Regions from separate parts of the Homo sapiens genome. Here region 1 is linked to region 2. Evidence: promoter capture Hi-C in 16 types of primary human blood cells and fetal thymus (Javierre and others, 2016). All regions are on one chromosome and are shown on one strand. Each heading gives the region's core, a stretch centred on a gene start or on the middle of the fragment in contact. The rest is flanking DNA. Distances are from core to core; before and after follow the strand shown. Region 1 holds the start of UPRT (uracil phosphoribosyltransferase homolog). Region 2 holds the start of PIN4 (peptidylprolyl cis/trans isomerase, NIMA-interacting 4).

Region 1 (6,615 bases), core at 2,357-4,856, 3.1 Mb before region 2:
TTCTGACAAATCAAGAAGACAGCACTTATGAATGCAATTAGAAGCATGCACAAATCCAAACATGAGGCTTGAAATTCCTTAAATGTGAACAGCTCTTCACAGTTCATAATGAATATTCATGAACAGTATCTTGTTTTAGCCTCCCAGGGGCTCCATGTGATATTTACCAACATCTTCATTTTACAAATGATAAAGGTGAAGCACAGAGATGCTAAACATATTGCCTAAATCACTTCTCTGGATCCTGCTGTCTCCTTCCAAACTTAGAGGAAAAAAAAAAAAGGATTCCACTTACACCCAGGTTTACTACATAACCCAGGTTTTTCTGACTAATGACATATAATCAGGTATTATTTTGTCATATGTGAATGCTAAATGCCATTCCCTCTCCAAGCGCTATAGCAAGGGCACTTCACCTTTACATTATCATGACACTTTGTGAAATCTAAAAAACTAAGGAATCCTCACCCTCTAAAAAAAAAGGCACATATGTGAATGTTCATAGCAGCATTATTCATAATAGCCAAAGAGTGGTAAACCACCCAAATGTTCACCAACTGATGGATAAACAAATTGTGGTATATTCATATAATGGAGTATCATTTAATCATAAAAAGGAAAGATCCCACACGGATGAACCTTGAAAACATGCTAAATGAAATGAGTCACAAAATGACCACATATTGTATGATAATGAAATGTCCAGAATAGACATTTTTTATATGTAATGTGCAGAATGGGCAAACCATTAGAAATAGAAAGTAGATTAATGATTGTCTAGGGCTTTGGGTGGGTTGGGTGAAAATGGGGAGTGACTGTTTAATGGGCATGAGGTTTCTTGCTGGGGTGATGACAAATGTTCTAAAACTGTGGTGATGAATGCACAGCTGTGAACATACTTAAAACCACTGAATTATACACTTTAAATTCTTGAACTGTATGGTCTGTGAATTATATCTCAATAAAGATGTTATTTAAAAACAACTATTAAAAATCTTCATATGAGTAAAATTTCCCAGTTAATTTATGAGGGTTTGTTAAAGCCCTGAACCCATCTACTGGTACGAGGGAGTCGAAGACCCAAGCGTAGTAACTTCTGCTCTATAGAAACAAGAATCATCATCTATTTTTCTTTGTTGTATATGTAAGATTTATTTTGGCTGCCCCTACCCTACCACAACTACAGCAAACCTATGCCTCCTATTTTTTAGGATCACTATTTTGTCTATTAGATAACATAACCACAGTAGTTTTCAATATTGATTCATTAAAAAGAGTAAAATAGTATAGTTTCATAAATATAATTTTAAGAGCTACAAAAAAACTCTAGTAATTGAGCATCTATTATTTGCAAGGCATGGCCGGCATTCAAAAATGTAAAAGATTTCTGCCTTCAAGATGTCATAGGCAGGATAAGATCTATACAAAAATAACAATATACGAAAAAGAAGGTGAATCTTGCATTAAAAAGACCAGGGAAGATAAGCCAGGAATAATGATTAAAGGGAAGCTTCTTGGCAGAGGTGGACAATTATTTAATGCTGTGTTTCACCCTGAAGAATAAGTATCCTGAACGTACATAAAGGAGACACAGGGAATTCCAGATGAGAGCAGAAACAGATATGTTTCAGAATTGTTCCTAGGAACTATGAAGAAGGGCCTTCATCCCAAGCTAAGGGGGCCAGGCATGGTGGCTCACACCTGTAATCCCAACATTTTAGGAGGCCGAGGCACGAGGATTGCTTGAGGCCAGGAGTTCAAGACCATCGTGGACAATATAGCAAGACCTCCATCTCTACAAAAAAATAAAAAATTAGCCGGGGGGCAGTGCCATGTCCCTGTAGTCCCAGCTACTCAGGAGGCTAAGGCAGGAGGATTACTTGAGCCCAGAAGTATGAGGGTACAGTAAGCTGTGATCTCACCACTGCACTCCAGCCTGGGTGACAGAGAAAGATCCTGTCTCAAAAATATCAATCAAGCTAAGGATCCTGGACTTTATTTGGTAGGCTCTGAGAAGCCAAAGAAGGTTGCTGAGTAGGGCAATTACTGAATCAAAGATGTATGTTATGAAGATTGATTGTACAGTAATGTATGGGTGCATGTGGAAGAGAGGAAAAACTGCAAGCAGAGAAACAGTATTATTACAATAGTGTAAGACAAGGTTTCTAGAGTCTGGTTTAGGGAGTGGCATCTGTCATTCAGTAGCCATTTTTAAAAGATCAAGGCATGTCCCCCCAACCCCTGCCACTAAAAAAGGGGTGTTTTGATATGCTGCTCATTTAAAGTGCTGCCAATAAAGAAAATAGCTGTAGTTCATCATGGTACATATTTCCCTGGAGAAAACCCATTTACAACGTAGGTTTAGAAATTTCAAAATTACATTTTAACATGAAGTTCTGGCTACATTGGTTTGTGGGATTAGGAAGGGCCAAAGGCTCCTTTAGGCTCCCTTTGATCCATTAACTATGTTCTGTGAGTTTACAGTGAAAAATGATAAGAGTTGGACGATAAGCTTTCATGTGATCAAGTAAACCTGAACTCCAAGACTAAAAGACCTTGTTTGCAGTAGCAAATACTAAAGGGTCAGGGCCTGAATAGAATTTCCTTGAAATTGCTTTATTTCTATTTATGAACCTGAGGTGATTGGTGGTAGTGCATAACCTTGGATAGTAACCATTTCTGGGTTATAGGTTTACCATGTGGACAAGCACTGCCCACATAGTATAGGGGAGTTTACCTGCCTGGAATGGCCAAGGAGTTGTCTTTCCTGGGAGAGACAAAGAGCCCAGAGGCTACCTAAAGTCTTCCTCCCCACCCAAAGTGATGTTAGACACCGGAACTTGGAAAGAGAAGGTTGGCGTTCGAGTTACACGACACACACACACACACACACACACACACACACACACACACACCAAATAAAAGGTCTTACCCCAATCTCCAAAGTTTGCCAAGGCCAAGAACACTGTCTCTTAGCCCTTTTACTTCCAATCCCCGCCCACAGCCTGCAAGACCCTCCACTTCCCTTTCCCCTTCCGCTCTTGGCTTACTTGTCACGGATGATGGTCTGTAGCTCCCGTATCTGATCATTCATAGGCAGCAGCTTAAGCTGCGCCCCGATCTGCCGGGAGAGTTCGCAGTCCTCTAGGAAGGAGTTGCCAGCTGGTGCGTCATAGCTGCTACTGTCACCACTACCACTGTTGCCCTCTGAGTTGAGGCTGGAGCCGCCGCAGGCCCCAGAGTCCAGCTCGGCCGGCAGGCTAGAATGGGCGTACCCCGTGAGGAGAATCACCTTGGCCCTGGAGGCTCTGTTTCCCCCTGCGTGGTCCAGGATCAGATCGCCAGGTCGCAGCTGCTCGGGACTTGGGGTTGAGGCAGAGTTTACTTGCTGGTTGTGACAGGGCATGGAGTCCGGACACTGTAACTCCGTGGCCATACACCGGGCCCCGGGCTATCCCCGCTGCTACTGAACACTAAAGATAAAGAGGAACGGGTAGAAAGGACAGATGCTCACGTGCTCTCTCGGTTGCTCCCGCCTCCTCAGAACATCTAACCCTGGCTGTCCTTTCACCCCTAGGCCGCTGTTGGTTTCCTTTAGCACACTTTGGCTCACTCCCGCCCACACCAGACGTACTGCCTGCCTAGACACCCTATTGGCTGCACTCCCCGCCACTCTGCGGCGCCACTGCTTGTTAACCCTTTGAGTCACCCTTGCTACGTGGGTTCCCACAGGTAGCTAAGCCCCCGCAGCGAGGCCAAGGATGCCAGCTTGAAGGATCTTCCGGGGGCCCCTGGGGCTTCTGCATTCAGAACTTTGGGTGATTAGTAGAGCCAGGAAAAACTGGGGGTGGCAGGTGATGATACACAGTTACACACGTAAGGCCCATGTTTTCAGACTTTGTGACCTAGCAGAGAAATTATATCTCAGTAACCGCATCTTCAGTTAGCTTGTCTGCATAACAGAAGGAAGAAGTAAAAAAATGCCTAGCAGGCTGCTGAAGAGGCTGTCCTCTACTAGACTGTTCTAGAAACTGCAGCTTCCCAAGTATGCTTGACCGCCAAAGCTTTTCTTATCTTTATTGGTTGGGCCCCACAGTGTACACGTTGTCATGGGGACTCAGGCGGCATTTCAGATCCACTATCATTTTGAATCTTTAAAGTACTTGGAAAGACGCTTATTTTTAAGTGTATGGACTCACTATAACGGCCTGAGGTAAGAGTGTCTAGGGCAGTACTTTTCAAACATCAGTATGTACCACAATAATTGTAGAGCTTGTTAAAATGCAGGTTCTTACGGCTCATTTTTGAGATTGTGATTCTGTAGATCCGAGATGGGATACAAGAATCTTTTTTTTTTTTTAACTTTTAAGTTCAGGGATATATGTGCAGGTTTGTTACATAGGTTAACTTCTGTCATGGGGGCTTGTTGTAAAGATTATTTCATCGCCCAGGTATTAAGCCTAGTACCCACTAGTTGTCTTTCCTGATCCTCTCCCTTCTCACACCATGCACTCTGCAGTAGGCTCCAGTGTGTGTTGTTCCCCACTATGTGTCCATGTGTTCTCATCATTTAGCTCCCACTTATAAGTGAGAACATGCAGCATTTGGTTTTCTGTTCTTGTGTTAGTTTGCTAAGGATAATAGGCTCCAGCTCCATCCATGTCCCTGCAAAGGACATGATCTCATTATTTTTTATGGTTGCATAGTATTCCATGGTGTATATGTACCACATTTTCTTTATCCATTCTATCATTAATGGGTAGTTAGGTTGATTCCATGTCTTTGTTATTGTAAATAGTGCTGGAGTTAACATATGTGTGCATGTGTCTTTAATAAAACAATAATTTATGTTCCTTTGGGTATATACCCAGTAATGGGATTGCTGAGTTGAATGGTATTTCTGTCCTTCCTTTTTTTAACATGCCTATACAGATTTTTTTATAATTTTTTTTTTATTTCCATAGGTTATTGGGGAACAGGTGCTGTTTGGTTAGATGAGTAAGTTCTTTAGTGGTGATTTGAGAGATTTTGGTGCATCCATCACTCGAGCAGTATACACTGTACCCTATTTGTAGTCTTTTATCTCTCAAGCCCTTCCCACCCTTTTCCTCCAAGACCCCAAAGTTCATTGTATCATTCATATGCCTTTGTATCCATCATAGCTAAGCTCCCACTTATGAGTGAGAACATACAATGTTTGGTTTTCCATTCCTGAGTTACTTCACTTAGAATATTAGTCTCCAATCTCATCCAGGTCGCTGCAAAAGCCATTAATTCATTCCTTTTTATGGCTGAGTAGTATTCCATATATATATACATATATATATATACACATATATATATGTGTATATATATATATACATATATATGTATATATACACATATATATACACATATATATGTGTATATATATATATATCTCACAGCTTCTTTATCCACTCATTGATTGATGGACATTTGGGTTGGTTCCACGTTTTTGCAATTGCGAATTATGCTGCTATAAACATGCGTGTGCAACTATCTTTTCTGTATAATGACTTCTTTTCCTCTGGGTAGATACCCAGTAATGGGATTGCTGGATGAAATGGTAGTTCTACTTTTAGTTCTTTAAGGAATCTCCACACTGTTTCCATTAGTTGACATTCCTACCAGCAGTGTAGCAGTGTTCCCTGTTTGCCACATCCATGCCAACATCTACTATTTTTTAATTTCTTTGATTATGGCCATTCTTGCAAGAGTAAGGTGGTATTAAATTGTGGTTTTAATTTGCATCTCTCTGATAATTAGTGATGTTGAGCATTTTTTAATACATTTCTTGGCCATTTGTATATCTTCTTTTGAGAATTGTCTATTCATGTCCTTAGCCCACTTTTTGATGGGATTGTTTGTTTTTGTCTTTCTGATTTGAGTTCCTCGTACATCCTGGATATTAGTCCTTTGTCAGATGTATAGATTGTGAAGATTTTCTCCCACTGTATGGGTTGTCTGTTTACTCTGCTGACTGTTCCTTTTGCTGTGCAAAAGCTCTTTAGTTTAATTAAGTCCCAGCTATTTATCTTTGTTTTTATTGCATTTGCTTTTGTGTTCCTGGTCATGAAATCTTTGGCTAAGCCAATGTCTATAAGGGTTTTTCCAAAGTTATCTTCTAGAATTTTTATAGTTTCAGGTCTTAGATTTCAGTCCTTAATCCATCTTGAGTTGATTTTTGTATGAGGTGAGAGATGAGGATCCAGTTTCATTCTCCTACATGTGGTTAGCCAATTATTCCAGCACCATTAGTTGAAAAGGGTGTCCTCTCCCCACTTTATATTTTTGTTTGCTTTGTCGAAGATCAGTTGGCTGTATTTGGATTTATTTCTGATTTTGTGTTTTGTTCCATTGGTCTGTGGGTATATTTTAATACCAGTACCATGCTGTATTCGTAACTATTGCCTTATAGCATAGTTTGAAACCAGGTAATATGATGCCTCCAGATTTATTCTTTTTGGCTATATGGGCTATTTTGCTTCAATATGAATTTTAGAATTGTTTTTTCTAATTCTGTGAAGAATGATATTAGTATTTTGATGAGAATTGCATTGAATGTGTAGATTGCTTTTGGCATTATGATCCTGT
Region 2 (6,607 bases), core at 2,631-5,130:
GTTCCTAAGAATTACAGTTGAATTAAGGGCTCAGTTCAATAAACATTTCCTATACAACTACTGAGTTCCAGGCACTGGGAGTACAAAGATGAACAAGCCATGTACCTTCCTTCAGAAAACTCATATTCTAGTGAGGAAGACGGATCATTTCAGGAGAATGCAGGAGATGCAGAGATGGTTATGGACAGGGGGCTGTGGAAGCACAGAGGGACACTGGAGCCAGCCAGGGAAGGTTTCCTGGATGAGTAGGAGCTGGTTAGCCAAAGAAAGGATGAGGAGACACTCCAGAATGGGGGAAACGACATGGTATGTGTAAGAAATTGTATGGATGAAGCCAAATCTGAGGTGGGAGTGCACTCAGATGAGCCTGCCTGAGGGAGGTAGCTGAGGGTCAGGGCATTGAGGCCTTTTGGCCCCATTAAGGAGCTTGGGACTTATCCTAGACGTAATAGGGAGCCATTGAAAAGTTGTTTTTTTTTTTTTTTTTTTGAGACGGAGTCTCGCTCTGTCTGTCGCCCAGGCTGGAGTGCAGTGGCGCGATTTCGGCTCACTGCAAGCTCCGCCTCCCGGGTTCATGCCATTCTCCTGCCTCAGCCTCCCGAGTAGCTGGGACTACAGGCGCCTGCCACCACGCCCCGCTAATTTTTTTTGTATTTTTAGTAGAGACAGGGTTTCACCCTGTTAGCCAGGATGGTCTCGATCTCCTGACCTCGTGATCTGCGAGCCTCGGCCTCCCAAAGTGCTGGGATTACAGGCGTGAGCCACCGCGCCTGGCCGCCATTGAAAAGTTTTAAGCAAGAGTCTCCATCTTGCTTGTCTTAGTATCTCCAAGCCTAGCACAATGCCTGGCACACAAAAGGTGTTTTAATAAATGTTTGATTAAACTGAAAACCCCAAATACTGACTACCAAAACCCTAAAAAAATGTTACTGCCAAAGGAGTGTTATTAAATCAAACTCCTAACTGGGTTTGCTATAGATCCATTCTTGAATGATGATGCCTTCCAGTTATCCCATCCTCTTCCCTGCTGGATGCTGTCATCTTCTGACTGCCACCTCACTGCCTTTGATTTCCTGACGACTCTGGCATCAGCTTTGGGCTTCCTCTCCACCCTCACTCCTGCCATTACCTTGAGTGACCTCACCATCTATCTTGGGGAATCTCAGTTCTAGGTCTCTTTCCCGAATGTCATGCTCTCTACTCCAAGCTACCTGCCCCGGGGGCACACGATGGAACTGTGCCACTCAGAACTAGTTCAGTCTCTGGCTATAACCTCCTGTTCTTCCAGCTTCCTCATGTCTCATTCCCACAATACTTGCTCTTTAACTTCACAGAACCTCTCCCTTGACCCCAGTCCCTTCGTCCTGCTACATTCACCTAGGCCACCAGACTTCTTTTTCCCTTCCCACTCTGGACCCCATGTTCCTTCATCTGAACTGCATTCCCACTGGCCCTTGTAATTCCCTGGTGTTGCTATCCTCCTATCATAACTGCCTAACAAAACCTCAACCATGGCTTAAGGCTGCACCTAGCTCTTTTCAATCCTATATTGTGCCAATTGCATAGTACTAGGTAAATCAGACTGTGAAGATTATGTAGTCTACAAATTCATGGCCTTTGATCTTAGTCAGGCTCCTAGCCCTGAAGGCACTTCTTTTGTGTTTCATTCCCTCTTCCATTACGATATTCCAGACCTTTACCACTCTCCTCAAGATGCCTACTGAGTCCCTGCCCCTCCATCTCCTTTCCTATGACCTCAAGCATAAGGTGTCCCTGCTCCCCCTAGGTCCTGGATTCCATTTTCTCCTAAATCTCACTCTTCTGTACCTTTACCTCTTTTACTTTACTGGATCCTTCAGCTTCACTCCCAAGTTTTCCCCATTCCAAAGAAGCAAAGAAAATAAAACTTTCTCTTAATCCTCTGTCCTTCTCTATCTACCATCCCATTTCCATGCTTTTCAATTAAAACTTTCCAAGAAGTCCAAATTACCACTTCCCAGTCAGTTCTCTAGTCACGGTAATCTGGCTTCTGTTTCACTGAAACCACTTTTACCCAAGGCCACCTCTAATTTCCAAATCTGCTGTTCTTGATAGACTATACCCTCTCTCTTTAAAACATTCTGGTCTCTCCAGCCTCTGGCCACCATTCTGCACTCCCTCTATCTGTCTGCCTCTTTCTCTGCCTGTCCTAGGATCACATCCTCTGCTCTCTGCTCTTTTCATTCTATAAACTCTCCATGGATAATTGCATACACTCTAATGGGCTCAACTACCATCTATAAGTTAGCGACTCCTAAAACTTACATGTACAGTCTAGACCTCTCCCTCAAACTTTAGACTCAAATATCCAACCACTTCCTGACTACATCTCCACTGAGATGTCCCACAGACACCTCAAAGCCAATCTATCTGAAAGTGAATTCATCAATCTCATCCCCGCTCCTCATGTATCCTTGATGTTACCCTGCAGGACCAGCAACAGGTTAGAAATCCAATCCAGAAAACAGAATGATCGTTGATCCTCCCTCACCACCCCTCCCCAACCCAATAAATCACCAAGTCTTGACTATTTCACATCCTAATATTTACAGAATCTTTTCTCTTTTCTCAGTTCCCACAGCCACTCCCTTAGGTCAGTCCACCATCATCTCTCACCAAGACTACCACAACAATCTCCTTACAGGTCTTTCTGATCCTTAACTGTCCTTCTTAGCAGAATATATAGCACTCTCCATGATCTCGTCTTTGTTTCTGTTTTCATTCTCACCACTTGCCATTCTGCCTTGAGTTTTTGCTCCAGCAACACTACGCTGCACACATCATGCTGTTTCTCACCTCAGTGCTTTTGCTGCTGGACCCCAAGTAAGGAATGCTTTAACCTACCCTCAATGCACATCTTGACCTGCCTAATTCATCTCCAGGAAGTCTTCCGTTCCCTGTTCCCCAGCTAAATGAAGGACTTCCCTCAATTTCTATTATATCCCATACACATCCCTCAACACTACATTTAGTACAGTGCTTTATGATCACTAAGCCTTTATCTTCCTCACTACTTCGGGAGCTCCTTAAGGCCAAAATCTCTTTTTTTTTTTTGAGACAGAGGCTCGCTCTGTCGCCCAGGCTGGAGTGCAGTGGCGCGATCTCGGTTCATTGCAACCTCTGCCTCCCGAGTTCAAGCGATTCTCCTGCCTCAGCCTCCCGAGTAGCTGGGATTACGGGCGCGCACCACCACCACGCCTGGCGAATTTTTGTATTTTTAGTAGAGACGGGGTTTCGCCATGTTGGCCAAGCTGGTCTCGAACTCCTGACCTCGTGATCCATCCTCCCTCGGCCTCCCAAAGTGCTGGGATTATAGGCGTGAGCCACCGCGCCCAGCCTTCTGTCTTATTTGTGTATCCTCAGCGCTTAGCACTCTGCCTGACACATTTCTGTTCAATGGATGAATGATTCCTTCCCCGATGGTGGGCATGTCATTCTGTAAGCATTAAAGTGAACTTTAAGGACCATAACCAATGTGTACTTCCTATTGCTGGCTTTTGATAAGACCCAATTTTAGAGCTCTAATAACCCCTTGAAATAGCAGCCCTAAGTCATCGCCTCCGAGGAACTATCCCCATCAGATTCCATTACCCACTAGGACGGTCCCTGAACCGTAGCCCAATGTATTCCTACAGATGTAATCGATGGCAGCACTGTGGGGCCACTGGCTACCTGCTGCGTCCGTCCCGGACTCCGGAGATGGACTGTCTGTTCCCTCCCTTCGCTCCTCACCCGCCCCCATTCTCCTTGATCGCTCTGGCCGCTCTACCTTTCCCCGCTTTTCCAGAACCACTTTTTCCTTTGGGCGGCATCTTGGAAGCTTGTTGTTGAACGCTGAACCGCTCCAGTTGCCGTACAAGCCCCTTTAGAAGCCCCGCCATGGGCATGTCCTAAACAAATGCCTGAAAGCCGCATCTCAATTGACCGTTCTTATTGCGGCTCCGGAAGCAGGCACAGCTTGGGGCAGACCCCGTCCTTTGGCTCTTGGACCAATGGGGCTGAAGATGTCTGACCAATAAGACGCTTGGGCCGAAACAAAGGCAGAGGGGCGGAGACAAAGGCCGGATTAGGGCGGGAAGCCTGGCCTCTGCGCTTTTTGTGACTTCTTTCACGCACCCTAATTTGCACCAGATCCCCCACTCCCCACACTCTACGCCCGAAGCTCCCCCGTTCCCCTCAACCTGGCTTTTTTCACGCGTGCGCAGTAGGAGCCACGGGGGTGGGTGGCTCTGCAGTCCCTCGGCGCCAGCTCTGGCCAATCCCGCGGGGCCGCCAGACAAAGGGAAGCAGGAGTACTGTGGTGGCGGCCAACTTCCGCTGTCTCCTCCTACACACAGGGCTGCCCTCCCTGGCAGTTTTTCGTTTGTTAATTTTATTCTGCAGTTGTAGCTAATTAGGTTCAAAAGGTAGTTTTTAAAAAAGCCTGTCACCTTTTTGCGTCTTGCAGAGCTCAGTCATGGAGAAACATTGGAAGCAGTCTGAGTGCTCCTCAGTCGGGTACTGCTTAAATAATGTTTTAGCCACACAAGAAGATATTATACAACATTCAAAATAACGATTGTAAGGCTGTGTGTACAGATAGGGGAAATGTTTTTAAGACCAAGATAAAGAATATGATTCCTTGTAAAAGAAGTATATGTAATGTATTGTATGTTATATGAATATAAAGGAGAGGAAAGCTATAGAGCAAGATGTGGCCAGTGGTGCTAGTGCATACAGGTCATCGTGTTTGTTTCTGTGTATTTTCCAAAATTTCCATAATGGTGCAGCATAGTGTAGTAAAAGCATGGATTCTGGAGCCAGATTGCCCAGTTTCAAATCCCTGCTCCACATCTGTCTACTAGCTCCATGACCTTGAGGAAGTTACTTCACCTCTCTTTGGCTCAGTTTCATCATCTGTGAAATGGAGTTGATGATAATAGTACCTACTATTATCCTATCAGGTGTTAAGAGAATTAAACAAGTTCATATCTGTAAAGCACATAAAATGATGGCTTGCTCATATTAATAATGTTTGCCTAAGATAAATGATTTTTGAATTTGTGCCCACACACTTTTTCTCCCCTTACAATCCCTCCCACCATCAATAATTTGTATATGATATGTCAGGGCGTTTCCTCCAGTCCATGAGAGAGCTGTCCTAGCTTGCCACTACCAGCCAGAATATAGAGGTCTTCCAGCTCAGAGTTTAGTTTTTGGATGCAGCCTTGCTGGACCTGGAGATGCTTCATGCTCATACCAGGGAATCAGGTGTTTCTGAGACTGTGCTCATTCCCTACTCAAGACATAACATGGAGCCCTCTTATGTTTGGCTGCTTTAAATTCTGGACACATTTTGGGCACTCCTTGTTTTCGGATTGGGAGTGATCAACTGCGGAGGACACATCTAGTGGTGAGGGGATCATTGCTCTGCCACTTCTGAAGTGGATCCCGCACCTGTACTAATTCTCCAAGTTCGGCTGCGAGATGGAGGGGCGGGGGAGTTGGGATTGGGTGTTGACGATGACAGCGTAGCCTTGTGTTCATCAGGTTATCTATGGCCAAGAGGCCCAAGAGGAACATTTACTTTTGATTTTTCTTTCTTTTTTTTTTTTTTTTATTTTTTATTTTTTATTTTTTTTTTTTATTGATCATTCTTGGGTGTTTCTCGCAGAGGGGGATTTGGCAGGGTCATAGGACAATAGTGGAGGGAAGGTCAGCAGATAAACAAGTGAACAAAGGTCTCTGGTTTTCCTAGGCAGAGGACCCTGCGGCCTTCCGCAGTGTTTGTGTCCCTGGGTACTTAAGATTAGGGAGTGGTGATGACTCTTAACGAGCATGCTGCCTTCAAGCATCTGTTTAACAAAGCACATCTTGCACCGCCCTTAATCCATTTAACCCTGAGTGGACACAGCACATGTTTCAGAGAGCACAGGGTTGGGGATAAGGTCACAGATCAACAGGATCCCAAGGCAGAAGAATTTTTCTTAGTACAGAACAAAATGAAAAGTCTCCCATGTCTACTTCTATCCACACAGACCCGGCAACCATCTGATTTCTCAATTTTTTCCCCACCCTTCCCGCCTTTCTATTCCACAAAACCGCCATTGTCATCATGGCCCATCCCCAATGAGCCGCTGGGCACATCTCCCATACGGGGTCGTGGCCGGGCAGAGGGGCTCCTCACTTCCCAGTAGGGGCGGCCGGGCAGAAGCGCCCCTCACCTCCCGGATGGGGCGGCTGGCCGGGCGGGGGGCTGACCCCCCCACCATCCTCCCGGACGGGGCGGCTGGCCAGGCAGAGGGGCTCCTCACTTCCCAGTAGGGGCGGCCGGGCAGAGGCGCCCCTCACCTCCCGGACGGGGCGGCCGGCCGGGCGGGGGGCTGACCCCCCCACCTCCCTCCCGGACAGGGCGGCTGGCCGACCCCCCCCCCGCCTCCCTCCCGGACGGGGCGGCTGGCCGGGCAGAGGGGCTCCTCACTTCCCAGTAGGGGCGGCTGGGCAGAGGCGCCCCTCACCTCCCGGACGGGGCGGCTGGCCAGGCGGGGGGCTGATCCCCCCACCTCCCTCCCGGACGGGGCGGCTGGCC

Evidence for each region. Contacts are between HindIII fragments. The CHiCAGO score rates a contact against its expected background, and 5 or more counts as called.
Region 1: the fragment with the promoter of UPRT here is called in contact with the fragment with the promoter of PIN4 in region 2 in 2 of 17 cell types (total B cells and total CD8 T cells); the score reaches 7.4 in total B cells.

Annotation. Positions count from the first base shown.
Region 1 is chrX:75,271,076-75,277,690 of GRCh38, reverse strand. It overlaps UPRT (uracil phosphoribosyltransferase homolog), which reads right to left and starts at 3,606. Exons shown (of 7, transcript NM_145052.4): 1 at 3,051-3,606. The coding sequence starts at 3,436. It overlaps LOC124905200 (a long non-coding RNA gene), which reads left to right and starts at 3,655. Exons shown (of 4, transcript XR_007068269.1): 1 at 3,655-4,213. RefSeq lists enhancers at 3,226-3,435, 3,596-3,645, 3,666-3,715. The HindIII fragment of the contact is 1,552 bases long and covers 2,515-4,066 here.
Region 2 is chrX:72,179,030-72,185,636 of GRCh38, reverse strand. PIN4 (peptidylprolyl cis/trans isomerase, NIMA-interacting 4) reads right to left here and starts at 3,880. Exons shown (of 4, transcript NM_006223.4): 1 at 3,809-3,880. The coding sequence starts at 3,851. RefSeq lists an enhancer at 3,621-3,840. The HindIII fragment of the contact is 4,711 bases long and covers 3,862-6,607 here.